2 separate regions of the Homo sapiens genome follow, and region 1 is linked to region 2. Evidence: promoter capture Hi-C in 16 types of primary human blood cells and fetal thymus (Javierre and others, 2016). All regions are on one chromosome and are shown on one strand. Each heading gives the region's core, a stretch centred on a gene start or on the middle of the fragment in contact. The rest is flanking DNA. Distances are from core to core; before and after follow the strand shown.

The links. The method cuts DNA at HindIII sites, captures the fragments that hold promoters and counts their contacts. A CHiCAGO score of 5 or more calls a contact.
Region 1: a contact is called between a fragment that was not itself captured here and the fragment with the promoter of LINC02610 in region 2, in 1 of 17 cell types (naive B cells). The highest score is 5.8, in naive B cells.

What each region holds. Positions count from the first base shown.
Region 1 is chr2:237,502,152-237,508,329 of GRCh38, reverse strand. The region is part of intron 2 of MLPH (melanophilin); the gene reads right to left. Among named protein-coding and RNA genes, the nearest start is that of MIR6811, 5.7 kb to the left of the region's middle. The HindIII fragment of the contact is 2,964 bases long and covers 3,370-6,178 here.
Region 2 is chr2:238,228,435-238,235,511 of GRCh38, reverse strand. LINC02610 (long intergenic non-protein coding RNA 2610) reads left to right here and starts at 3,835. Exons shown (of 3, transcript NR_026926.1): 1 at 3,835-4,178. It also overlaps the pseudogene TARDBPP3. RefSeq lists silencers at 699-788, 939-1,068 and an enhancer at 769-1,270. The HindIII fragment of the contact is 6,584 bases long and covers 3,366-7,077 here.

The DNA of each region.
Region 1 (6,178 bases), core at 3,602-6,101, 730 kb after region 2:
GACCAGCCTGGCCAACATGGTGAAACCCCGTCTCTACTAAAAATACAAAAATTAGCCAGGCACAGTGGTGGACACCTGTAATCCCTGCTACTCAGGAGGCTGAGGCAGGAGAGTCGCTTGAACCAGGGAAGCAGAGGTTGCAGTGAGCCGAGATTGTGTCACTGCACTCCAGCGTGGGTGACAGAGTGAGATTCTGTCTCAAAAAAAAGAAAAAGAAATGAGAAGAAAAAACAGTTTCATTAAAGAATCACCTTGATGAAACCCTAAAAGTTATGAGTCTTTTTGAACCGTGGCCCCCAGTCCATGTCTTTTGAGGATTCTGCCTGATGAGCTTGGAGGAGGACAGGAAGCTCTTGTGCCACGTGTTGAAGGTGACAGATATTTCTATTAAAAGGATTGGGCAATTGTTCCGATCGCCACCTGAGCTAGAAACTTTTCTTATGAAATAGCATTTTCACTTGAGAGAACAACAGAGAGATGAACTGTTTCGACTTGGGTACTTGGCAGATATTTTCTCAAAAATGAACAAAGTGCGACTCTCACTTCAAGGAAAAGAAGTGACAGTATTTATTGCCAGTAATAAAACGGAAGCTTTCAAGCACAAAGTAGAATTCTGGAAAACATATATCGCCTGCTGTGAGCTTGACAGTTTGCAACACTGGGAGACTTTTGATGAGGGTTTCCAACACCGGGAGACTTTTGATGAGATCGCTGGTGAGAGTAACAGAAGTGGTTCTCTTTTGGTGTGCATATGAAATGTGTCAACATTTGAGAAGTCTGCATCACTCAGTGAGCCGGTGTCTTCCAAATGATTAATGCATGGTGTTACAAAAATCACACAGGGGTAGAAAATCCACTTCAAGTGCAAGAGAGACCAATGGATTTGAACAAACAGAAAAGGAAAAGTTCATTAACATGGTTTCAGATTCCACATCACAACTAACCTTTAAGAAACTACCAACTGGCCGGGCGCAGTGGCTCATGCCTGTAATTCCAGCACTTTGGGAGGCTGAGGCAGGCAGATCACTTGAGGTCAGGAGTTTGAGACTAGCTCGGCCAATGTGGTGAAACCCTGTCTCTACTAAAAATGCAAAAATTAGCCAGACATGGTGGCACGCACCTGTAGTCACAGCTACTTAGGAGGCTGAGGCAGGGGAATCGCTTGAACCTAGGAGGTGGAGGTTGCAGTAAGCCGAGATTACGCTACTGCACTCCATCCAAGGGTGGCAGAGAGAGACTTTGTCTCAAAAAAAAAAAAAAAAAAAAAGAAAAAAAAAAGAAAAAGGAAAAAAACTACCAACTCCAACTGCCGGGTTTTCATGTTGTAACAACACATGATGTTAATTATTGTCTACAAAGGCTATTCAAGTACTCCTTTTTTCAATTATGTATCTGTATGAGCCTAGATTTTCTTCAAATACTACAGCCTAGAAAACATGTTACGACCCACTGAATGCAGAAGCAAGTGGAGAATTCACCCATCTTCTATTGTTCCAGATAAGGGAGGAGACCACCCCTCATATTGTCTTATGCCCAATTTCTGCCTCCAAAGAAAAAAGAAGTAAAAACTAAAAGGCAGAAATGAAATCCACAGGCAGACAGCCCAGCGCCACACCCTGGGCCTGGTAGTTAAAGATCGACCCCTGACCTAATCAGTTATGTTATCTATAGATTACAGACATTGCACGGAAAAGCATTGTGAAAATCCCTGTCCTGTTCTGTTCCATTCTAATTACTGGTGCAGGTGCATGTAGCCCCCAGTCACGTACCCCCTGCTTGCTCAATCGATCATGACCCTCTCACATGAACCCCCTTAGAGTTGTAAGCCCTTAAAAGGGACAGGAATTGCTCACTCGAGGAACTTGGTTTTTGGAGACGTGAGTCTGCCGATGCTCCCAGCTGAATAAAGCCCTTTCCTTCTACAATTCGGTGTCTGAGGAGTTCTTGTCTGTGGCTTGTCCTGCTACACAGACATTAAAGAGATTTGCAAAAGCAGAACAACACCACTCACCTTACTCACACTCTGATTTTGGGAAAATCTCATTTTTTATAAAAACTGTATTTATATTAACATGTAGGGGGTTTACTGTTATTTTTAAATGAGTGAATAAATAAATATTTTTAACTCCCAGTTTTAATTTCTGATGTGGTAAATATTAATAGATATGACCCATATGAATAAAACTCTTTGGGGTTCTCAGTAATTTAGGAAATGTGAAGGGGTCCTGAGGCCCAAAGGTTTGAGAACTGCTGATTTCGAAGTCAAGTTTGCTCTCCCTCCCAGAATGTGGAGAAAAGGGACTAAGCGATGGGAGACAGTGGGGAGATGATGGCAAAGGCCGAGAAAGTGAGCTCCCAGGGGAGACAGAGCCCTGGAGACGGGGATGCATGGGGGTGGAAGGGAAGTGCTGTCCTTGTCCTTGGGGCAGGGGACCCACATTACTGTCCTCTGCAGTCCCACCTCCAGAGGGCCCTGGGACACGCATGCCAGAGCTGTGACTGGTGGGGCAGAACAGAGCCAAGGGGGCACTCCTGTCCTCAAGGGAGGCCCGGCAGCCTCTGAAGAAAGGGCGTATACCAGGGAAGGAAAACGCTTCTAGGACGGGAACAGGAAGGAAAGGCCGCTCCTATGATGGGGTCTGGACAGGATTGGTGAGCCACGCAGGGTGAAGGGGTCAGACCTGTGCCCTGCTCTGCCCCTCTTGGGGTGAAATCTAGACAGGGGTGTGGTGGCAACATGCAGGAATACTGGGGAGAGCCCAGGATGGCGGGGCTGGTGGCCACCCCTGAAGGCACAGCAGGGGGAAGCTCCCACTGTGGCCATCCCCAAGGTCCAGCACACAGGCGGGGGAAGAGCCTGCATGAGGGGTCCTGTGGGCCTCCACTTGCGTTGGGTGCTGGGGTGGTGGGGAATCCACATCCCTGTGATCCTTAAACCATGCTCCAGCAGGACTGCATGCGATGAGGAGCAGCCAGGGGACTGGCAGAGGCTTGGGGTTGGTGGAAGAGGCCACAGCACGTGGGTATGTGGCTGGGATCAGGGTCTCAGTGGTGGGTGCCATCCGTATCTCAGTGCCCGGCCAGTACCCTTCACATACCAGCCAGCGGTCCCCATCCTGCAAGCTGACCTGCCCTCCACTCTGCATCAGGACCAGCAAGGAGGTGGGGACAGTGTGTGGAGTCCAGACCCCATCAACCTGGCCACCGGGAGGGTCATGAGCCTTTCTCCCAAGGCCCAGCTGCTGGCCTGGCCAAAAGCATGGGTTGGGGAGCAGAGGTGGGGTTGTGGGGAGCTCTGGAAGAGAAGCTGAGCCAGGAACAGAGACCCGGTAAGTGAGCAGAGTCTGGGAGATCTGAAGCCCTGAAGCTTGCACTGTCTTGCTGCTCAAGGGGTGGGGTCTCACGAGGGGGAGCAGATGGGAAATAAAAGACCTGTATTTCCTTTGCACGGCTTGGTTGGGTGAAGTTTTCGACCATGAGTTTTTGCCATGCCACTGAGGCAGCCGTCACCCTAACAACACAGGAAAACTCTCCTAACCAGAGAGAAGAAACAAAGAAAGAGCTGAGTCTTCAGATTAGAGGGGTCGCTGGATGGTAGGAGATGCCTACACAGACTGACAAGACCACTCTGTTATAGGGCGGGCAAAATCCCTACCAGCATGGTGGACAGAACCGGCGGCCTCCAACAGAGTGGAGGTCATGCAGGGGGCCCTTCTGCAAGGCTGAGGGCTGGCCGTGGGGCAGTGGCTCCCGTCCAACTGCTGCCATTTCAGAGCTCCACCAACTCCATGGCTTAAAACAATGCAAATGCTGGTCAGTTGCGGTGGCTCACACCTGTAATCCCAGCACTTTGGGAGGCCAAGGTGGGTGGATCACCTGAGGTCAGGAGTTCGAGACCAGCCTGGCCAACATGGTGAATCCCCATCTCTACTAAAAATACAAAAAATCAGCCCCGTGTGGTGGTGGGCACCTGTAATCCCAGCTACTTGGGAGGCTGAGACAGGAGAATCGCTTAAACCCAGGAGGTGGAGGTTGCAGTGAGCTGAGATTGCGCCACTGCACTCCAGCCTGGGCAGTAAGAGCAAAACTCCACCTCAAAAAACAAAATAAAATAAAATAAACACAATACAAAAACAATGCAAATGCATTACCTGACAGCTCTGGAGGGCAGAAGTTTGACTCAGGATTCATTGAGCTAACATCAAGGTGTCGGCAGGATTGTGGCACCTCCTGGAGCCCCCAGAGGGGAATCTGCTCTCTGGCAGTTTAGCTTCTTGAGGGCTTCAGGTATGTGGGCTCCTGGCCCCTTTCTCCATCTTCAAAACCAGCCATCCCTTCTGCTTCTAAGGCCCCTGTGATGATATTAGGCCCGCCCAGGGAACCCGGGATCATCTCCCAGGTCCAGGCCAGCAGGTGGGCAGCCTAAAATGCATAATCCCATTTCTGTATAGCCTCACGAATTCAGAGGTTCTTGGGGTTGGGAAGTAGACATCTTTTTGGGGGGGATTATTCTGCTTACCACCGGTAAGCATCCCCACAGCCTGTAGGGGAAAGCGTGTGAGGTCAGATTGTACTCCCAGGCAAGTGGAACAGATCCTCAAAGACAAAATCCACACTCCATGCCATGCCTGAGAAAACAGCCTGAGGACAGACCCCAGGTAATGGAGAAATGATTCCTGAGGGTGACCCTGAGTTGGGGACTGGAGCACAAAAGATCCAGTGAGTCACAGGATCCAGGGGCCAAATGACTGAAAGCGTGGCAACCAAAGTAAACCTCACGTCAGGGCTAACGGCTGGCAGAGGACGGAAAGACGGCAGCATTGCTGAGGAGCAGCACCGGGGACCCAGGCTCCTCATCCTGGGAACGCGTGTCGGGAATTACCACGAGGGAGCTGGAAACTCACTCAAGTTCCTGGAGATCCTCTAAAGGGGAAGACCAAGATGACGATAAAAAAGATGAAGAGGAAGTGAGTGGTGATGTGAGAACGGCAGGCGCTGAGAGACGGAGCCTCAGAGTATCTCCTAAAACATCTCAGACCAATGTTCCCCTCCAGGCCCTGCCTTGGCAGCGGAGTCCCTGTTTTAGCCCCTATTTTTTTCATCTCTAGAGTTGCCTGTGTCCGTGATTCCAACTAGTCCGGCTAAGGGTGATTTCAAATTCCTTATGATCAAAAAAATGGATTTTTATTATTTATTTATGTATTTATTTTTGAGATGGAATTTCGCTCTGCTGCCCAGGCTGGACTGAAGTGGTGTGATCTTGGCTGACTGCAACCTTTGCCCCCCGGGTTCAAGCGATTCTCCTGCCTCAGCCTCCTGAGTAGCTGAGACAACAGGCGCCTGCCATCATGGCTGGCTAATTTTTGTATTTTTAGTAGAGATGGGGTTTCGCCATGCTGACCAGGCTGGTCTCGAACTCCTGACCTCAGGTGAACCACCTGCCTCGGCCTCCCAAAGTGCTAGGGTTACAGGCATCAGTCACCGAGCCTGGTCAAAAAAAAATTTTTTTTAAAGCAAGCCACGGTTTGCCCGTGTCTCATACTAGGAGACCCTTCACAGATTCTCTCTGAACCTCCTCTGTTTGCAGAGATCACAAATCCACGTCACCACCTATTTGCCTTTCCAGGGCAGGTTGGCAGTCCTAATATTTGATTTGTAGGCTGTGTCCTTTAAAACAGGGTGTTCCGTTTGGGCTTCAGCCTTTCCCCCAGGGCATGAGTCACCCAAGTCCGGCTATGCATGGTCTCCTAGTTCTTCCTGGGTTTGGAGAATATCCATTAATTTCTACCATAACCACAGCTGAGGGGCTACCCTAACAAATGCAGAAAGCAGTTACTGGGAGAACTTGACACAAGCATGATACAAAGCAAGACACAAATCAGCACCAATGCAAGCTCCAGGGTGCCCAGGAGGAGGCCTGCTCCTTTTGTGCACAGCCCCAGGTCCCTTGGGTCCAGGACAGGGATGGGTGCCTAAGAAGTTCTGGGCTCTTCTGGGGACAGAAGGAGTTAAAAGCTGTGACTATTAACCAATGTTCCCTTCAAGAAGGTTTACTTTGGCCCTACTTTGTATTTGTAGAACATTAAAAAATAATAACATGTGATAATCTTTTCTGTACTTAAAACCTTCTTAATACCCAAGTGATATGAATGAATCTAAAACACTCAAGATGAGAGCA
Region 2 (7,077 bases), core at 2,586-5,085:
CTGTCCTCAGCCTTCCCTGCCGCCCTCCAACTGGACGTGTTCTTCCCAAGGCTCTGTCCTCAGCCTTCCCTGCCGCCCCCACACCCAGTGACACCATCTGGCCCGTTTTGCCAATCCCATGCCCTTGATTCAAAGCCCCTCTCCAGGCGGCTGGCTCCTCTGTATCCTCCTGTCCACTCAGTGACTGCACTTAGATGTCAGATGGGCTCACACCACCACCAAAACAACAGATCCTCAGGCATTACCACTTCTTGGTACCCCATGGATTGAGCAAAAAAATCTAGATGTCACCCTCAAGTTCACCCTCTTCCTGCCATCCCACGTCCTATCAGTCAAGCCCATGAGCACTACTTCTTCTTCTTTTTTATTTTTATTTATTAATTTATTATTATTATTATTATTTTGAGACGGAGTCTCACTCTGTCGCCCAGGCTGGAGTGCAGTGGGGGAGATCTAGGCTCACTGCAACCTCCGCCTCCTGGGTTCAAGCAATTCTCCTGCCTCAGCCTCCCAAGTAGCTGGGACTACAGGCGCCAGCCACCACGCTCGGCTAATTTTTTCTATTTTTAGTAGAGACGGGGTTTCACCGTGTTAGCCAGGATGGTCTCGATCGCCTGACCTCGTGATCTGCCCGCCTAGGCCTCCCAAAGTGCTGGGATTACAGGCGTGAGCCACCAAGCCCGGCGGAGCTCTACTTCTAAGCCCTGCCTCCACGTGTCGTCTTCTTTGCCACCGACCGAGTCCAAGGCAGCCTCGTTTCTAACCTGGGCCTCCGCAGCAGGCCTCTGACTCCCCTCCCACTCCAGTCCTGACCGTGACCTTCAAGACTCTACCCGGTTCAGCACCGCCGCCCCCCGGGGCTCCTCCCTTCCAGCCCTCCCTACGCTCTGCTCAGGCCTCTGCAAGTGACCCGAGAGCCAGGACCCGGACGGTCTCGATCAGCCAGTCGCCCAGCCCTTGAGCCCTTCCGGGACTGCCCGGAGCCGGCGCTGGGGAATACCGAGTCCCTTGGAGCCGGGTTCGGGGGGCGCCGTGAGCTGGGAGGCGCTCGGAGGAGCCGAGGCCTTGACCACGCCCCCTCCAGCCCCGCCCCGCCAGAGGCGAGCCGCGGGGCCTCCTGGGAGATGTAGTTCCGACCCCTTTACTTAGATTTTTGGTTTTTTTTTTTTAAATCAGTTTTATTTAAGAATTTCCAACAATGACAACTCTTATAAAAAGCATCCAAGCACAGGACACAGAACTGCAGCAAACAGCATTCTTATGGGTAGCTAACAGACATTAGAACTTCTACCCTTCTTTGAGACACCAGAGTTCACTGCTGAACTCTGCTTCCAAGTCCTCCTGCAAAGCACACCACAAGCTCAGTCCATGTTCTCAGCCCATCAGCTTCAGTTCACATTGCCACACTTACATATCAGTAACAGAAGAGAACACACACCATACAGCATTCACAGCAGTTGACAAAGGGGTAGGGGGAGTACAAGTATCATTTCACTTAACACATTCAAATAAAGTGGGTTATCTAAGAACAAAAACTCAAAGTCTTCCAACAGATGTGGATGTCCTTTGAATGCAAAAAACATTCGTACATTATTTGCTATCATTGCTGTCTGCACACTGTCACCAAAGCCGCAGGATTGAGAAACACATCTCGCCAAGTTAAAAAATATCCGTTATGCACCACCAAGTCTCTGCACGTGCTCTCTCCTTTTCTCACTCATACTAGCCTTTCATGCCTCAGCACCACCGTCAATCCCACACAAGGTTTCAAAAGTTCAAACAGCCTTCTAGTTCCATATCACAGCCTTGCGTTCACAGCGTTGATACGACTCTATGAAATAAAGAGTAGCAGATAAAAATGGGACACCCACCGTCAAAGACGCGGCCTGTGATGCGTGATGACGAATTCTTGAATGAGAAGGCATGTAGACAGAAGTGTTCCTATGGCAGAATATTTACAGCACTACTTTCAACCAAGTGCTTCTTCCATAAACATTTGAAATGAGATGAACTGCAGAGATTAAATGAAGGCTTCATATTGTACTTTTGTGTTTGAGGGGAGACAAGTGTTAAAAAACAAAACAAAAGAACCAAACTGTGACACCATGATCTTCTAAAAGGAGATTTTCTTAAGGAAAAAAATCCATATGGTGGGGTTCAAATTAAAACAAGGAATAAAGAATGTAGTTCTAATTCATGGCTTCCATTTTGAACATGCAAAGAACTCACTTGACAAGTCCAGGGATAAAATATTACAGGAGAAACCTTCTGATATCAATTGTAGTGTGTTGGTTTACCAATCAGGCAAACAGCAGTTCACTTTCAACCACTCAATATTTCAACCTTTCATGTAACAAAACTTATAAAATTCCTTTAGCTGTTCCTTTTTCTAAAGAAAAATGTCAAAAATACTACTGAATATACTCCACACTGAAGAAACCAATTTTGAAAATTCTTAGTACATATGTATTTTACAATATACTTACCATGAGTTTAGAAAAATTTGAATTCCAACCATTCTATACCAACCAACCACAACCCCACTGTCTACGTTCCCAGCCAGAAGACTTAGAATCCATGCTTGAGCCAAAGCCGCCATTAAAACCACTGCCCGACCCTGCATTGGATGCTGATCCCCAACCAATTGTTGCACCAAAATTAGAACCACTACAAGAGTTATTTCCAGAACCGAAGGCCTGGTTTGGCTCCCTCTGCATGTTGCCTTGGCTTTGGTTATCATCCGATGGGCCTGGCTGCTTCGCTGGCTGGCTAACACACCCATCGTACACCAACTGCTCTGCAGCACTGCCTGGGGGGCAGCCATCATGGCTGGATTAATGCTGAACGCACCAAAGTTTATCCCACCACCCATATTACTACCTTGATTGTTTCCCAAACCAGCTCCACCCCCTCTACTCTTACCAAATCCACCCTGATTCCCAAAGCCACCTGGATTACCACCAAATCTTCCACTTCTTGCTGTCTATTGCTATTGCGCTTGGGTTCGGCATTGGATATGTGAACGCTGATTCCTTTCATCGAGTCCTCTCCACAAAGAGACCGCGCAATCTGATCATCTGCAAATGGAACAAAGGCAAAGGCCCTGAACGGCTTGGGGACGAAGACATCCATCACATCCCCATACTGAGAGAAGAACTCCCACAGCTCATCCTCAGTCATGTCCTCCGTACGGCGCCCCACAAACACTTTTCTGCTTCTCAAAGGCTCATCTTGGCTTTGCCGCACCATAAGAACGTCTCCAAAGGTACTACAGTACTCTTTCAGGTCCTGTTCAGTTGTTTTCCATGGGAGACCCAACACTATTAAATCGGACTGGTCTTTTCACTTTCACTGCTGATGAAGCTTCTGTCTCACCCATTTTTCTTTTGTTATCTTTCGGATAGTTGACAACATACACCGGATTTCTCCAGCCAGCATCGGGGGCATGCAGAATTCCTTCTACCAGCCGGACACCTCTCATACATTGAGACACCGGATTCCTGCAGCGAAGCCCACACGCCCCTGGAAACTGGGCTGTAACCGTGGACAGCAGCACCGTCCCATCGTCTTCCGATGGTATTTCAATGGGCTCATCGTTCTCATCTTCGGTTACCCGAATATATTCAGACATCTTTTACTTTTCCACTAGGCCGCTGCTGGGAAGCCCGACAGGGACACCGAGGCAGCGACGGACCCAAGCGCCAGTGTTTTTTTGTTTGTTTGTTTTTTGTTTTTTTAAAGAGGCCACCACAAGTTGAGGCGGGACTACAACTCCCAGAGGCCGCCGCGGCCCGGAGGCCACGCCCCTTGGCGGCGAGCTCTGAGCCCTTTGCCGCATTTGACACTCGACATCCTCGTGCTTCTTAAAGCACTTGCCCAACGGTGAGCAACGGCCTCCAACGGTGCCCGAGGGACTCGCGCTGCCCGTTAAGCAGCTTTGCGGTGGCGGAGGCTGGGCTGCCGTCTCTCCGACATCCCGGGACGGAGGAAGAGATGAAGGCTCTGCAGCCCCCGCCGCCCGATTTACGCTTGAGAAAGCGAAGGCGAGAGAGGTCGTCCAGCCCCTGGGGGCCCAGCCCTAGAGAGCGGGGCGCGGGCTGCGGGGCCCGGCGGCCTGGACGGCGGAGCGTTGAAAGCTCCCCCAGGGATAGGAAGTGCAGCCGAAATCAACGATTGAGGTCAGTGAAGGAGCGGACGCTTGAGGCCTTGGAGGGGAAGCAGGTTTCTCCAGGAGGGAACCCGGGCCTCCGCTTTGCTCAGCGCTCCCCTCGCGAATGTGTTGAGCACCTGTTATGTGCTGGGGGTACAGAGGTGAGACTCACAAGGCCCCTGCATTGTCTTTAAGATCAGCAAGACCCCGCAGAGAACCCAAATCCAACGCGCACTGCCCAGAGGCAGACACTGGCATTCCTTGATAGACGGTAGCCAGGGAAGCCCAGGTCTTACTAGATTATTATCAGTACTTGGATTTGAATGTATCTGAGAGGAGGAGGGTTAAGGTTTAAGCTGTGGCTCAGAAGCCCCTCAGCTCTTCGTGGAATCTCCCAGGCTTTTCACTCTTGCATCCTCATGGAAAAATACTGCCCTCCCTGGGAAACCATGCTTTCTGTGCACACCTGCTCTGTTCCCATGTCGCTGTACTACCTATTGACCTGTCAATGGATGATGACACTTGGGGTACTATCCTCTCTCCTCCAGATCTTGCCCCACCTTAACCTTGAAAGAATATTAAATGCGCCCTTAGACGTCAGGAACCATCCCTCAAACCTTGCCATTCCTCTCTGTTGAACCTGCTCCAAATCTTAAGTGCCAACCTCCATCTTATCCACTTTATCCTGGGGAACTTGTCCTCACACCCCGTTGAGGTTTCTTACTTATTGTCCTACTGTTTTCTTCACACTCCAGTTTCTTAAAAACAGTCTTCATTCTCATTTTCTTCATTTCCTCATCACCTGTTTGTCCCTAACAAAATTTCAGTATGGCTACATTTCCTGCCATTCTACTATAGAAAACTTCTGCCAGAGTCTCCAATGAACTCCTGATTGCCGAGTAGACTCTTCAGTTTTCTCACCCGAACTTTGCGGCATTTGATACTCAACATCCTCATGCTTCTTAAAACATTGTTCTTGCCAGAGCACGGTGGCTCACACCTGTAATCCCGGCACTTTGGGAGGCTGAGTTAGGCAGATCGCTTGAGCCCAGGAGTTCAAGACCAGCCTGGGCAACATAGCAAGACTCCATCTCTACCAAAAATGCAAAAAATTAGCCAGACATGGTGGCCCGCACCTGTAGTCCCAGCCACTCGAGAGGCTGAGGTGGGAGTATCACTGGAGCCCGGGAAGTCAAGGCTGCGGTGAATTGAGATCACGCCAGTGTGCTCTGGCCTGGACAATGGGAGTGAGACCTTATCTCAAAAAATTGTTCTCTGTCTAGTCTTCTTGCTCTTCTTGTTCCACCATTCCTTCTCAGGTTCTGGCAGTGGCTCTTCACAACTGGATATTAAATGTTGTCTTTTTTTTTTTTTTTTTTGAGACAGGTTCTCACTCTGTCTCAGGCTGGAGGCTGGAGTGCAGTGGTACGATCATGGCTCACTGCAACCTCGACCTCCCAGACTCAAGTGATCCTCCCACCTCAGCCTCCTAAGTAGCTGGGACTATAGGCGCACATCACCATGCCTGGCTGATTTTTGTATTTTTTTTGTAGAGAGAGATGTTTGTAGTGTTGCCCAGGCTGGTCCAGCAATCCACCTGCCTCACTCCCAAAGTGCTGGGGTTATAAGCATGAGCCACCGTGCCCGGCGAATATTGTCTTCTTAAATATTGTGCCCCACATTTCTTTGCTAGGCCCTCTTCTCTAGCTTCTAGGCTGTAATCTGTATGATCTCCATGGCTTCACCTGCTGTGCTACCAGCTGCAAAATCTATTTCCAGCCCAGCCCTCTCTGGAGCTCTCATAGAGTTTATCCAAATGCCCCTGGCTGTCGCCTCTCAGGAATCCCACAGGTTCTGCAACAAGTTCAAATGTGAACTCAGCTTTCCAACAAAACCTGCTCCTCCCTTCATGTTCTGGATCCTTCAGAGCAACAAGGGCATCAATCCTTCAGGCTGGAAACCAGACGGTCCATGGAGACACCTCCCTGGAGCCCTGCCTGGGCAACCTTGACCTCCCAGGTTCCAGGGGACACTGGAGCCCTGCAGGTAGCGTCCAGGAACTGGCAATCCTGCCACTTCAACAGGTTGAACGAACAAGAGGATGAGTCTTAGACGTCCCTTTCCCCCTGTCCGGCTCCTGCATTCGTAGTTCAGGTTCTTGGCTGTCACCTGGAGAATGGCAGTGGTCATTAAGAAAACCCCCACCTTGAAGGTTACGCCCTGAGCTTCAGTCTTTTCAAAAGCCCAACACTGCAGATTCTCAAAGAATAGTAGGCCTGGTCCTCACGTGGGCCAACTCAGAACTTACTGACTGCCTCCACACCCCCTCCACCACCTTCTGTCTCCATGCCCTTGCCAGATATTTGGTTTGCTGCATGGCCAAAGCCGCTGCTCTGCCCTCTGCATGCCTCCAGGTTTGGCTCAGATAGACTGCCTGCCTGAAGCCTTTCCTGGTCACTCCTCGTTTTATGCAGTTTCCAAGGCTTCTTTTATTTCCCTGACGGCATAGTCCAGATAATGTTTGCTTGTTCATTCCACAGTTGTTAACTGGAGGCCTGCTCTTTGTCAGGCATTCTTCTAGTTGCTGGAGACAGACAGCATTTCTTCTCAAGTTTATGCTGTTATGGGCAGTTAGGCTGTTGGGTTGTTGTTGTCTTTTTTTTTTTTTTTTTTTTTTTTTTTGAGACAGAGTTTGTGCTTTGTTGTCCAGGCTGGAGTGCAGTGGCACGATCTCCGCTCACTGCAACTTCCTCCTCCTGGGTTCAAGTAATTCTTCTGCCTCAGCCTCCCAAGTAGCTGGGATTATAGGCGCCCGCCGCCACACCCAGCTAATTTTTGTATTTTTAGTAGAGACGAAGTTTCACCATGTTGGCCAGGCTGGCCTCGAACTCCTGACCTCAGGTGATCCACCTGCCTCAGCCTCCCAA